Linked DNA regions of Homo sapiens: all the other regions are linked to region 1. Evidence: promoter capture Hi-C in 16 types of primary human blood cells and fetal thymus (Javierre and others, 2016). All regions are on one chromosome and are shown on one strand. Each heading gives the region's core, a stretch centred on a gene start or on the middle of the fragment in contact. The rest is flanking DNA. Distances are from core to core; before and after follow the strand shown. Region 1 holds the start of CDK5RAP3 (CDK5 regulatory subunit associated protein 3). Region 2 holds the start of UBE2Z (ubiquitin conjugating enzyme E2 Z). Region 3 holds the start of TTLL6 (tubulin tyrosine ligase like 6).

The links. Contacts are between HindIII fragments. The CHiCAGO score rates a contact against its expected background, and 5 or more counts as called.
Region 2: the fragment with the promoter of UBE2Z here is called in contact with the fragment with the promoter of CDK5RAP3 in region 1 in 5 of 17 cell types (M0 macrophages, fetal thymus, non-activated CD4 T cells and 2 more); the score reaches 12.8 in M0 macrophages.
Region 3: the fragment with the promoter of TTLL6 here is called in contact with the fragment with the promoter of CDK5RAP3 in region 1 in 5 of 17 cell types (total B cells, M0 macrophages, non-activated CD4 T cells and 2 more); the score reaches 6.1 in total B cells.

Annotation. Positions count from the first base shown.
Region 1 is chr17:47,968,623-47,973,200 of GRCh38, forward strand. It overlaps CDK5RAP3 (CDK5 regulatory subunit associated protein 3), which reads left to right and starts at 2,491. Exons shown (of 14, transcript NM_176096.3): 1 at 2,491-2,530; 2 at 2,740-2,785. The coding sequence starts at 2,525. RefSeq lists a silencer at 2,142-2,431 and an enhancer at 2,853-3,480. The HindIII fragment of the contact is 1,666 bases long and covers 1,832-3,497 here.
Region 2 is chr17:48,905,871-48,910,448 of GRCh38, forward strand. UBE2Z (ubiquitin conjugating enzyme E2 Z) reads left to right here and starts at 2,537. Exons shown (of 7, transcript NM_023079.5): 1 at 2,537-2,950. The coding sequence starts at 2,634. LOC105371814 (a long non-coding RNA gene) reads right to left here and starts at 3,113. Exons shown (of 4, transcript NR_135674.1): 1 at 3,069-3,113. RefSeq lists silencers at 2,676-2,925, 3,196-3,325 and enhancers at 4,199-4,248, 4,269-4,318. The HindIII fragment of the contact is 3,469 bases long and covers 1,965-4,578 here.
Region 3 is chr17:48,815,194-48,819,771 of GRCh38, forward strand. TTLL6 (tubulin tyrosine ligase like 6) reads right to left here and starts at 2,036. Exons shown (of 16, transcript NM_001130918.3): 1 at 1,777-2,036. The coding sequence starts at 1,879. LOC105371813 (a long non-coding RNA gene) reads left to right here. Exons shown (of 4, transcript XR_001752926.1): 3 at 646-799; 4 at 1,236-1,765. RefSeq lists silencers at 1,742-1,791, 1,882-2,231. The HindIII fragment of the contact is 3,258 bases long and covers 374-3,631 here.

The DNA of each region.
Region 1 (4,578 bases), core at 1,241-3,740:
TTCTCCTGCCTCAGCTTCCTGAGTAGCTGGGATTACAGGCGTACGCCACCACGCCCAGCTAATTTTTGTATTTTTAGTAGAGACAGGGTTTCACCATGTTGATCAGGCTGGTCTCAAACTCCTGACCTCGTGATCCACCCGCCTCAGCATCCCAAAGTGCCGAGATTACAGGCGTGAGCCACCGTGCCCAGCGTGTTTTTTGTTTTTTTCAGAGATGGGATTTCACCATGTTGATCAGGCTGGTCTCGAATTCCTGACCTTAGGTGATCCGCCTGTCTCAGCCTCCCAAAAGTGCTGGGATTACAGGCGTGAGCCACCGCGCCTGGCCCATATATGATATTTCATATAGGGAGAGTTTACAAAGCATGAGAAATACAGCCACAGTATGTTGTAAACTGTCATGAGTTACTAGTGTGTTTATTTAAGCCTCTAAACAGAAATACCCTGAGATAGGATAGCTGTTATCTCCATGTGGGGAAACTGTGGCTATCAGATAGGTTATAGAAATGGTCCAAGACCTCACTGGGCAGAATCTAGGTCTTCCTGCTGCTGTATCACACTATGCATTTCAATCAAAAATTTACTAAGCCTCAAGTGTTGTGCTGTGGTGAACAGGAGCTGGGGAAGGAATATTTAGAAATGGCATACCCAGGGCCGGGCGCGGTGGCTCACGCCTGTAATCCCAGCACTTTAGGAGGCTGAAGCGGGAGAATCACGAGGTCAGGAAATCGAGACCATCCTGGCTAACACGGTGAGACCTCGTCTCTACTAAAAATACAAAAAAATTAGCCGGGCGTGGTGGCGGGCGCCTGTAGTCCCAGCTACTGGGGAGGCTGAGGCAGGAGAATGGCGTGAACCCAGGAGGCAGAGCTTGCAGTGAGCCGAGATCGTGTCACTGCACTCCAGCCCGGGCGACAGAGCGTGACTCCGTCTCAAAAAAAAAAAAAAAAAAAAAAAAAAAAGAAAAGGCATACCCAGCGCTGTGAGATCCTGGGGGATCTGGCCTCAGCCTACCCTCCCTCCTTACTCTACCCACTTCTTGGCCAATCTCAGACTCTCCCTTAGCTTCAGCCACCACTCGGACCACAGATTAGCCAGCTTGTGACTCTCCAAGCTGTATCTCCAGCCCCGACAACTCCCTCGAACTCCAAAATTATAGACCCAAGTGCCTTCTGCACACTTTCCATCTGGGGGTCTCCCAGCATTGCCAGACTAGGTTCAAAGCTAGACCCCCTCCTCCCCAACACCTGCTCAGCATCCTGCATCCCTGTCTCAGGTGGTGGTTCCCACCTAATCACCTAGGTGTCATCCTTAGTGTCTCTCTCCTCCACCCAAACAGCCAATCAATTGCCAAGTCCTATACATTTTCCTCCTAAATATTCCTCAGATCCAGCCCTTCCCCTTCCTCCTCATATCTTGTGTCCCAGCTCAGGCTATAATCCCTCGATAACAACCTCCTTCCAGCCTCCTTGTCCCCAGTCTTATCTCCCATGCATCCATCATCCCAGCAGCCTATCTGTACAGGTTCCTCCCTGCCTCAAACCCCTTCTGTGATTCCTCTGTCTGAAGGGATGAAGTCCAAGTTCCTTAATAAGTCTCCCTTTGATATGGCCTTTCCACCCTTACAGCCTCTCCTCTAGCCACTCGCTGCCTCAAACCATCTACGGTATAGAGGTTGGCCTGCCCGCGGAGCCGACTTCATCTTGAAATTCTTCATCATTTTGTAACAAGCAGCTGTGCATTTCCATTTTGCACTGGACCTCACAAATTACGTTGCCCGTCCTGCCTGCCTGTTGTTGCTTGCACCCCTCTTGCAGTTTGTGGCCACCTAAGCTTTGTCTGTGTAGTCTCCTCCACCTAAAACTCCTCTTCCCACATCACCCAGCTATCTTCAGCTCTTCGTTTAGACTCAATGTAGGTGTTCTCTTTGGGACGTCTCACCGACTCTCTTCCTTCCCCTTCCCTGCCCTAATCGCCCAACACGTTGCAGGTGCTCAACCATGTCTATTAGAGAAACTGAATGAGGAGGCAAAGCATGACAAGTGCCACAAGAGACCTGCACACTGCTCTGGATGGTAAAGCGACGCAAGGAGGGAAGAAGGTATTTGCAACGGCCTCCCAGATCGGCGCTAGGACCCCGCCAGCAGACGTCTCAATCTGCGTGGAGAAGACCCAGTGCCCGCCAGGGGAAGCGGCTGCCAGGCTGGGCTCTCGAGCGCCGCCTGTCGCAATCCCACGGCCGCTGCAGCGCACCCCCTCCCGTCCCCTGCCCTGAGCCCGCCTCGCGTCTCCAATTGGCTGTCTCCATTCTCCCGCCCCTCCCGAGCTCAGCCATTCGGAGCCTGGGGTGGGCGGGGCTTGAGGCCTGAGTGGAGCGTAAACCCTGATTGGCTGTACGGAAGGCGGCGACGTGGCCGAAGGATGCCCGTTTGTGTCTAAACGGAGGCTCGGCCACAACGCCACTGGATTGGTGGTAGGGCGGGGCGGGCCACAGTCTCCAGCCTGAAGCGGAAGTGGAGGAAAGATGGAGGTGTGGGGACAGGAGCTGGGTGTGCTGGGGACTGGCCGCGGACCCCTAACCTGTGTCTCCGGTCTCCCTCCGGAAGCGGCTCAACCCAGCCCATCGCTCTGGCCCCGTTCTGGCCCTGCAGGGTGGTGGTTGGGACGTTGAAATGAGCGCGCGAGTGGTACGTCCTCTCTCCGCGCTCACGCCCCCCTCCTCACCGTGTTTCCCGCCAGGACCATCAGCACGTGCCCATCGACATCCAGACCAGCAAGCTGCTCGGTAGGAGGGGGCGCCACCGCGCAGCTGGCTGTCGGGGGGAGGCCTGTGCGTTGCCCCCTGTGTCCAATAGCCGGGAGCTCTGACCCCTGAAAGCCTGAGTCGAGATGCTGACCACTGGCCTCGTTCTATGCCCCATCTGTGGCCAGACCTGCTTCCCTGATAGCAGCGGGAACGAACCATATGTACAGTCTGTTTGACCTGCGTTTTCTCCTTTAATAACATATGTTATCGTATCATTCAGGGACAGGATAAATGACTCGCTTTAAAAACAGTCAACCACTGCCGGGCGCGGTGGCTCATGCCTGTAATCCCAGCACTTTGGGAGGCCGAGGTGGGCGAATCACCTGAGGTCAGGAGTTCGAGACCAGCCTGACCAACATGGAGAAACCTTGTCTCCATGTCTCCATGACTAAAAATACAAAAAAATAAAAATAAAAAGTAGCCGGGCATGGGAGCACATGCCTGTAATCCCAGCTACTCGGGAGGCTGAGGTGGGAGAATTGCTTGAACCCCGGAGGCAGAGGTTGCGGTGAGCAGAGATCTCACTATTGCACTCCAGCCTGGGCAACGAGAGCGAAACTCCATCTCAAAAAGAAGACAAAAAACAGTCAACCACTAAGTGGCACATCTGAATTGGAACTTAAGTCTGTCTGACCCACTGTCCATGCCTTTTGCATTATGCCAGGAAAAAAAAAAAAAACCTCATTTAAAAAGCTTCCACCTCCCCCTTGATTTTAGGAGGAAGAGGGACCTAAGACCCAGTTGCAAATGAAAACCTTTTAGTGTCCAGGCCATCTCCAGGTTGTCTGTATGGGGCTTACATACTTCCTCCCCAGTTCATAGTCAGGGAAGGCCTCTTCATCTGATCACACAGCTCCTGGCATTTTAAAATGCTTATTGGATTCATGGATTTGATGCCAATCTTGTCCTTAAGATGGTGTCTGTTTGACTACCCCAGTCCGTTGCTTCTAGTTCTGTGACATCAACAGAATTTTTCTTTCTGAAAACTTTACAGGAATATAGCAGAGAGAGTATAACTGATACTAGTGTGGGACCCCAGCGTTTGACCGGTTGGCAGAGTTCAAGTTCTGAATTCACCACTCTGTAGTGCCATTTAGTCAGTCCTGCTTGGTGGTCACGGGGGAAGCTTCTTTAGCCTCCCTTCAGATTTGTACTGGCCCTTCAGCCCATGTGCAGTCTTGGTGTGTGAGCTTGTTCTTGGTCATGAAAAGGACCAATAAAATGACCACCATTCATTGAGGGTTTTTTTTTGTACCAGGTGCTGTTTTAGGCACTTGACATGATAAAAATGATCACTGTCATTTTTTGAGTCCTTGCCGTGTCTCAGGCACACTGTTCAGTGTTTTACCTGCATTCCCTTTTCTAGTCAGTGTCTTATTATTCCCCATTTTACATGTGGGAAAACTGAGGCACAGAATAGTAGACTTGCTCAAGAAACTTGATAACGAGAACCCAGGACCATCTGACCACAAAGCTCAGCTCTTAGCTCTCACTGAGGAAATATGCATGGCTCTGAAGCCACAAATCTGGGCCCAGACTTTGAGAGGTCAGTCCCATTGGTATTCACATGTACAGGGTGGTACTTCACTGTTCACAACAGAGTCATGTTATCTAGTCCTTAGGGCGCTGTAGGTATTAGGGGCTTTGCAGCTGTTCATTCATCCAGTACTTGGCATAACCATCTTGTATTTTCCATTGTCATGGTTAACCCCAGCCCTGAGGAAATGGAAGTTGAGCAGCATCCTCTTGTCAGGAAGAAAGATATAATTACC
Region 2 (4,578 bases), core at 1,287-3,786, 940 kb after region 1:
TCGAGACCAACCTGGGCAACATGGTGAAACCTCGCTTCTACAGAAAAATACAAAAATTAGCCGGGCATCGTGGCACGTGTCTGTAATCCCAGCTACTTGGAGGGCTGAGGCAGAGGTTGCAGTGAGTTGTGATCCCATCACTGCACTCCAGTCTGGGTGACAGAGCAAGACCCTGTCTCAAAACAAATCAATCTTTAGCTCTCCATAAATCTTGGTCATTATCCTTCAGGTCTGCATTCCATTACTGTAAATTCATAAAACTCTAAAAGGCAGGAAGGGTGGGGTGGGTGGATGACTTCTGTAATCCCAGCACTTTGGGAGACCGAGAAGGGCGGATGACTTGATCCAACTCCAAAAGGAGTTGGAGACCTTCCTGGCCAACATGGTGAAACCTCGCCTCTACTAAAAAAATACAAAAAATTAGCCAGGCGTAGAGGCGCCTCTACTAAAAAAATACAAAAAATTAGCCAGGCATAGAGGCATGCTTGTAATCTCAGCTACTGGGGAGGCTGAGGCAGGAGAATTGTTTGAACCCAGGAGGCGGAGATTGCAGTGAGCCACGATTGCGCCATTGCACTCCAGCCTGCGTGACAAGAGCAAGATTCCCTCTTTAAAAACAAAAAACAAAAAACAAAAAAACTCTAAAGCCAGACTCTTTTTTTTGAGACGGAGTCTCACTCTTTTACCCAGGATGGAGTGCAGTGACTCAGTCTCGGCTCACTGCAACTTCTCCTTCCCGGGTTCAAGTGATTCTTCTGTCTCAGCCTCCTGAGTAGTTGGGACTACAGGCGCCTGCCAACACACCCGGCTAATTTTTGTATTTTTAGTAGAGACGGGGTTTCACCATATTGGTCAAGCTGGTCTCGAACTCCTTACCTCAGGTGATCCACCCACCTCGGCCTCCCAAATTGTTGGGATTACAGACGTGAGCCACCGTGCCCGGCCCAGACTTCTTTTTTAAAAAACCAAACTTGGTGGCAAAACATCCAAAGTGAGGCTATTCATTTGACTTGGTACGAATGTTCATACACTTTGATGCAGAAATGTCAATAGGTTTGGCTACCCGGCGCTGCCCCACTCCTTGCTTGGTGTGTCATTCCAAAGTCTGAAATACATCTGGCCCCACTGGTTTCCAGTTAATATTGATCCTATATTTTTGCTAGGGAAAAAAGTTTTTGTTTTTGTTTTGAGACGGAGTCTTGCTCTGTCGCCCAGGCTGGAGTGCAGTGGCACGATCTCCGCCCACTGCAAGCTCCGCCTCCCGGGTTCACGCCATTCTCCTGCCTCAGCCTTCCGAGTAGCTGGGACTACAGGCGCCCGCCACCACGCCCGGCTAATTTTTTGTATTTTTAGTAGAGACGGGGTTTCACAGTGTTAGCCAGGATGGTCTTGATCTCCTGACCTAGTGATCCGCCCGCCTCAGCCTCCCAAAGTGCTGGGATTACAGGCATGAGCCACCGCGCCCGGCAAGGAAAAACAGTTTTTTAGGAAGGCCCCTGTCATTCTTAGTCCATAGGAATTTTTTTTTTTTTTTTTGAGACGGAGTCTGGCTCTGTCGCCCAGGCTGGAGTGCAGTGGCGTGATCTCAACTCACTGCAAACTCCGCCTCCCGGGTTCAAGTGATCCACCTGCCTAAGCCTCCTGAGTAGCTGGGACTACAGGTGCACGCCACCACGCCCGGCTAATTTTTGTATTTTTAATAGAGGCGGGGTTTCACCATGTTAGGCTGGTCTCGAACTCCTAACCTCGTGATTCGCCCACCTCGGCCTCCCAAAGTGCTGGGATTACAGGCGTGAGCCACCGAGCCTGGCAGATTATTTTTCACTTTAAACATTTTAGGAAAGACCCAAAGAATCCTCAGGGTTTACACTCACAGTACCTCGATTCCTGTATATTCCAAGATTTGTGGGAAGAAAAAGTACTAAGCTTGGAGTCAGGAGGCCTGATGTTTCTTCCTTTCACCAAGCTTCTCTAGTTCTGTTTCATTATCCCCATGGCAACAACTAGCAACAGTGACTGGCATTTAGTAGGCCCTTCATAAATATATGTTGAATAAACTCTAAAAGAGGTAGCTTTTCATTCCAAGTTGAGTTCTCTCTTGGTCCTGTTGCAGGCAAGGGCAATGGTACCCTGCCCTAGGTGCACAAGTGTGCAGGAGGGATCAATCGCAGAGCCTTTCCGAGAGAAGGGGCCCAAAGCGAGTCAACTTCTCTACTGAGCTTCCCATGAGGATGCTGGATCCCCAATCCTAACCATGCAGACGTCTGAGGGTCGCCGCCATTAACGGGAATGATATGGCCCTTCCTCCCCCACTCCCTCCTCTCTTCTCCCCTTTCAACACTTGAATTGGGCTCTCCGCTACTTCCGCACAGCGCAGGACCCACACGAGCCCAGAACCATCACGGCCTGCTAGTTCCCACCCCTCCCGTCCTGGAGGACCGTAGGTGGACGCTCTTGCAGAGCGCCTCTCGCTGGTTGGGGCGGGGGTGGGCGGAGCCAGCACCGTCTGGGCTGTGGAAGCGGAGGGGGTGGGGACACTCTGGCCCGGTTCTCGGTGGTGCGGGAGCGGGCGGGAGCAGCGGCCGCTCTGGTCGGCGGACGTGCTGCCGAGTAGTCCCGGAAGCGAAGCAGCGATGGCGGAGAGTCCGACTGAGGAGGCGGCAACGGCGGGCGCCGGGGCGGCGGGCCCCGGGGCGAGCAGCGTTGCTGGTGTTGTTGGCGTTAGCGGCAGCGGCGGCGGGTTCGGGCCGCCTTTCCTGCCGGATGTGTGGGCGGCGGCGGCGGCAGCGGGCGGGGCCGGGGGCCCGGGGAGCGGCCTGGCTCCGCTGCCCGGGCTCCCGCCCTCAGCCGCTGCCCACGGGGCCGCGCTGCTTAGCCACTGGGACCCCACGCTCAGCTCCGACTGGGACGGCGAGCGCACCGCGCCGCAGTGTCTACTCCGGATCAAGCGGTGAGCCGGGGTTTTTCCTCCCCCAGCCCCGAGCTCCGGGGCTCGACCTTCCCCGCCCCCCACCCTCTCCCACTACAACTCACCCCCCACCCACTGCGCTGCCCTCGCGGCGGCCCACCTCCACGGCCCAAATCTTGCCAGCTCCGGGCGTCGGGATCCAACTCCCTTCTCCCCCCACCCTCAGACCCGCAAGCACCAACCCCCGCCTCGTGTGCCCAGATCCGACCCCGCCCCTCGACAACCTCCCGTGAGCCCTCCGTCTCCATTCCGGCCACCCTCCCCCACACCTCCCACCTCCGGGTGGAAACCCGACCCTTTAGCGCTTCAGTAACGCCCCCTCCCGCCTTCGGCGCCGCCCCTATTTCCCCTTCCCCACCCCAACCTTGCTAGATGCTGCCCGCAGGCCCCACCCATCGGTCCCCTCTCTTCTCCTCTGGAGCCCCGTTCCTAACACAGACGAACTCAGCTTCCTTTGCCATGCCTCTGACTCGAGCCAACCTTTCTTTTTATCCTCCGTTTTTCTCAGATTCCCTCCACACAGTCTTTTCCCAGGTCTAGATCGCTTCCCTCGCCCCAATCTTTCCTTGAACCCCTTTTCCAGTGTCCCAAAGCTGTCCACTCTTACGCCTCTTCCAGAAACACAGGCTACCTCCCCCCAATTCCCCAGTGCCACTCTGGATTGTAATATCCCACTCAGGAGCTTCTTTCTTGTAATTTCCCTCCCCCCACCCCCCACCCTCCCCGGGTCGTCTGTTTTACTTCTATGAAGCAAATATACTCATCAAATATAGGAACAAAGGCCTAAGTCCTTTCTGTGCTTATTTCTTGGGTGACTGATCTTAGATCCTATCATTTAGTAGATGATGTTTTCCAGAAGCACATAGAATAGTACCTATCGCATAAGAAAAGGGCAGTGCTCTTTAGCTATTAATCCTGAAACCTGTTTGACTTCTCCCCATGCCCCCATCACAAGCATCTTCGTTTAGTTCTTATTCCCCATGTTCCACGTCCTTTCAGATGTCTCTGTGTCTACTTTTCAAGGTTGTAATAAAAATTAATATAATGTGTGTAAAGTACCTGGCACAGTGCCTGACACAGGAGGTCAACTGTGGAGGGATTGCCACCTCTAACTGAAACTCAGCACTCAACTCTTTTCCTCCTCCAGCCATTTCAGTCATCCAATTCTGACATACCTTTGAGTTTGGCCAATGCTTTCCTCTGCTTTGTCGCCTATTTGCCCTTTTTATGTCCCTACCCACCCTAGCAAGTCCCTAGGCTTTTCGCCACCTAGAATGTTCTTTAGCCCCTTGCTCTCAACTGATCCATTCCAGTTGGTGAGATATGAGTCAGAAATCTTATCTCCTATGGAAGTCCACATGTCATCTTCCAGATGGGAGATTCTTAGCAATTTCTGAGGATCCCTCCCCAGCCTGAAGAGATCTCTACCCTGAGACACCCCTGGGCAAGAAGGCCACCATGATAGTCTTACTCTCTGCTGGCTGGCTTGCTTCATACAATCCCCTTACCAATAAAGGTCCACTGTATAGTTTATAGAATTAGTTTTTTAGTGGAGTTGATGATGCCTTTCCAGTTACTAAAAAATCTTCATTTAGCATTCAGTCGTAGTA
Region 3 (4,578 bases), core at 786-3,285, 850 kb after region 1:
AAGTTTTTTCATCTCTGACCTTCATCACCTGGACTTTTTTTCTAGTCTATAGGAATATATAGAGCACTGAAAGTTTCGCCTATTGTGTCTGTCTGTGAAGTCCCTCTCTTTCACCAGATAATAGGTTTTCCTTCACGTACCTCCTTTTCATCTTTTGGTCCTCATTTCCCTACTGGAAGCATCCCTCTGAAGGCCTCCAGTGGTTCTTGGAAAATGTCAAATTGGATGGGGGAAGAAAAGATGTGGAGGTAAGACCTCTGGATCTTGCTTTCAGCTTTGCCCCTCCAACTCAGTATGTCATAAAAATCCAAGCAATTATTTCCTCTCCCACTCCCTATCTTCTCTATAATTACAGGACCACTAGGAGGATAAAAGCTTCACATCTAGAAAAGTGCTTTGAGCTTTGATTCAGACAGGATAAAATAAGATGTTTTTTGTGGTCTTTTGACTTTTCGTTTTAGTCACACTTTGAATTTCAGCCCGGGGCCTGAAAGGGTCCTAAGCAAAATGTGAACTAACAAGGGAGGGATGGGGCACCCAATTGCTCAAGGGCTTTGCCAATAAGAAGTGTTGAGAATGACAAGTCACCTGTAGTGGGAACAATAAGAATCTTGCTGACTTAGATGCCATCTTTTATTCTTCTAGAAACTGAGAAATTCTGCAAGATTGGAAGATGCAATATTCAGATCAGGCTCATGCCTAGTCATTTTCTCCACAATATTCAGGGCATTGCTAACAAAGACAGATGGATCTGGATCCAAATCCCAGCTCTACTAGTTTCTAGAATGTGTGACCATGGGTGAGTAACTTAGCCTCTCTGTACCTCAGCTTCTGTATAAGTAAAATGGGGATGATAATAATATTCATTTTATGGAGCTGTTTTAAAGATTAAATGAGTTAATATTTCTAATACCCTTAAAGCAGTGCTTGGTTCAAAATAAAGGCTATATTGTAAAATGAAAATATAAACCAGGCGTGGTGACTCATGCCTGTAATTCCAGCACTTTGGGAAGCCCAAGTGGGAGGATCACTTGAGCTCAGGAGTTCGAGACCAGCCTGGGCAAAAAAGTGAGCCCCCCCACCCCCACCTCCATCTCTTAAAACAAACAAAAAAGAAAATATAATAATAAGATTGGCATAAATATTAAATTTTTTTGGAGTGCCTCGCACATACTGGTGCTTTCAAAACGTTAGCTCCCTTCCCACTTCATCCCCCAATGTGATATTTTTCCTAGAGTTCAAATCCCAAAGGAGAACTTTCTGCAAAGCCAGAAGAGTATTTTTTCAGGAGGGGTGAGAAATAACAACTGGAAATGAAAGAACACCAGGCTGGAAGGCGGTAGGGGCATCAGCAGAGGACTATGCCGGCCATGAAAAATGGGAAGTGTCTTGCTGGAAGGTTTCTCCAGACAAAGGAAGAACAGTGATGAAGAAAATGACCCAATGATGGGGATGAAGGGGATGAAGAGAGTTGTGTGAGTCCCAGGGATCGCTGGTGTCTAAGCGACAGCTCCTTGGTGGACTGTGGTTTAGGAAATCGGGGGAGGGCGGGAAATGAACGTTAATAAGAGGGACTGAGAAGGGGGGAGTCCCGGAGCCGAGGGACCGTGAGGGTGAGTGCCTGGCGCCATGGAACGCCACCAGGGAGGGCAGCGGGCTACCCTGGGGACCTGGGTCCCGTGTGGGTTTAAGGAGACGTGTCTAGCCAGGTTTTCAGGGGACAGGCACCAGGAGGCTGCGGTCTGGAGCCAGCACCGGGCTTTGGGGCGCTCTTACCCGCAATTCCTACTCCCCCGTCTCGCCCCGCTGGGCTGCTAGTCCAGCTTGCAACCACACCTGCCGGCCCCCTCCTCGAAGGATGAAGGAGTAACGCTCCCATTGGCTGCCAGACAGCCCCAACCCCAACCCGCGCTCGCCCTAACTTTGGGTCCGCCCGGCCCTCATATTTGCATACGGGGCCTTCTAGGCCTTCGATTGGCCCCTGCAGTAGCTGCCATGCCCCCTCCCTCCCGAATCCAATTAACCGCCCAGGCGCTAGGGGAGGGGCGCGCCCACGGTTGTCCCGGGAGACGCGGAGGACGCGCGCACCGCGCACCCGGGCGCCAGGGGCTGGACCGCCGCTCGCTCCCGCAGCCCTACCCTTGCCCAGCGAGCCAAGCCGCAGTCCCAGCCCATCCGCGCCGGTGCCGTCGGGCGCCGTGCGCGGGCGCGGCCAGAACGTCTGGCTCCAGAGGTCCAGCTGCGCGGGGCTGCGGTGAGGGAGGGGGGCACCTTGAATTTAGGCCTTCGGGAGAGGGCAAACCTGAAGCAGGAGGCACTGTGGGAAAACACTGGTTGGAGACTTAAATCAGCATCTCAGGCATATTAGTGCCTGTGTCACCTTGGGCAGGCCACGTTACCTCTGTGAGGCTTAGCTTCTTCAACAGGAAAATGGGTGTTGCAAACCTGTGATGACCGCTCAGGCGTATTGAACCCTGACCTCACCTCCAGAGTGTGGGGGTCATGGCCTCCAGTGAACTGATCAGTAAGAGAGGGCCGCCTAGACCGACTGAAGAGTCAGTGAGACTTAAGGGGTTAGGGGTCTGGGCTTCTCAGAGCAACCATTTGGTCTCAGGTGGAGAATCTGTAGTAGTGACTGGATTCAAATCATTGAAGATGGTCGGGCGCGGTGGCTCACGCCTGTAATCCCAGCACTTTGGGAGGCCTAGGTGGGTGGATCGCTTGAGCTCAGAAGTTCAACACCAGCTGGACAACATGGCGAAACCTCCTCTCTACTAAAAATACAAAAATTAACCGAGCGCGGTGCGCGTACCTGTGGTCCCAGCTATCGGGAGGCTGAGGCGGGAGGATCGCTTGAACACAGGAGGCAGAGGTTGCATTAAGCTGAGATCGCGCCACTGCACTCCAGCCTGGGCAACAGAGGGAAACTCTGTCTCAAATAAATAAATAAACATTGTTCATTTGGGCCTGAGTTGGTAACCTAAGTTCCTCCCAACCCAGATCCCCTTCACCTGCTGATGTGCACAGGCAGAACACCAGAGGCAAGGGTGTAGCTTAGCCTCAAGCCGACCCTGGAAGCCTACTACGTGGTGCTTACAGTCACCCCGGAGTGAACAGAAGGCCCAAAGTGGAACCAGTGGCCCATCTGCTGCTCTTTCAGAAACCTCTCTGCCATCCAGTCAGCACTCTTCCCTTTTCCCCCCGCAGGTGGCCCCGTGCTGTGGTGCCCCTCCCCGACAGGCCCTAAGGGGCCAAGTGACCATCATTAACTGGTCACCCAGCAGATGCTTCCCTAAGACCAACTGTCCCAGCCTGGTCCCCTCCCCCATCCCACTGTTGTCTTTCCCCAGCGTCCTACCAATCTGCTCTGCCTAGCTCCTGTTTGGTCTCCGGTCCCTCAGGAGTGATATTGTGATGGAAATGAGGGAGAGGATACAGGAGAGAGCAGCAAAGATTTACGGCTTTCAGAGAGTTTCCACTAAAATCCCTGACAACTGGTTATTTATGAGATGTTGCAACGGGAGCTTATAGGCCAGAGCCTGGCACTACTGTCCTTTCAGGGCTGATGTCAGGAGCAAACACAGGGTGAACACGGTGAACAGTGGAGCTGCCCTCACTGTAGAGCAAAGCAAGCTTCAACCCGAGTGACAGCCAGGAAAGCAGAGAATATCAGTGATTTGTGCCTGGCAAACCCTAAACAGACAAATCCACAAGGTAAACACTGAGGGACTTACTCGGCCTGGGCATGAAAAACTGAAGCAGAATGATGGAGGGTCCTAATTGTCAAAAAATTTGGACCATGTCCTAGAAGCTGTCAGAGGCAAGAGTGTGTGGAAAAATCCAGGTCCAACCCTGTTGTTTTCACTGCTGTTTTGTTCCTAAGGCACCCACCTGACTAAATAGATAAATAGTAAAACAACAGTAAAATCCCCGTAAGGTTGTTTGCTCTGCACTTCACACACAGCGTTTTTTCTCAGTTTGGAGTTCTTCCTTTAAGTAGTTAATGAAACAAACAGAGATCCTGCTTCTGCTCCCTGAACCAAGGTCCCTCCTAGAAGCCCTTTCTTCCTGTGCCAGTCAAAATATATTTTTTTTTTCAGACGGAGTCTTGCTCTGTCGCCCAGGCTGGAGTGCAGTGGCGCGATCTCAGCTCACTGCAATCTCTGCCTCCTGGGTTCAAGCAATTCTCCTGCCTCAGCCTCCCAAGTAGCTGGAATTACAGACACCCGCCACCATGCCCGGCTAATTTTTGTATTTTTAGTAGAGACGGGTTTCACCATGTTGGCCAGGCTGGTCTCAAACTCCTGACCACGTGATCCGCCCACCTCGGCATCCCAAAGTGGTGGGATTACAGGCGTGATCCACTGCACCCGGCCAAAATAATTTTATTTTGTTTTTTTCGAGATGGAGTCTTGCTCTGTCGTCCAGGCTGGAGTACAGTGGCACGGTCATGACTCATTGAAGCCTCAAACTCCTGGGCTCAAGCAACGCTCCTGAGTAGCTAGGATTACAGGCTCCTACCACCATGCCTGACTAATTTTTTAAAAAAACAATTTTGTAGAGACGGGATCTTGTTTT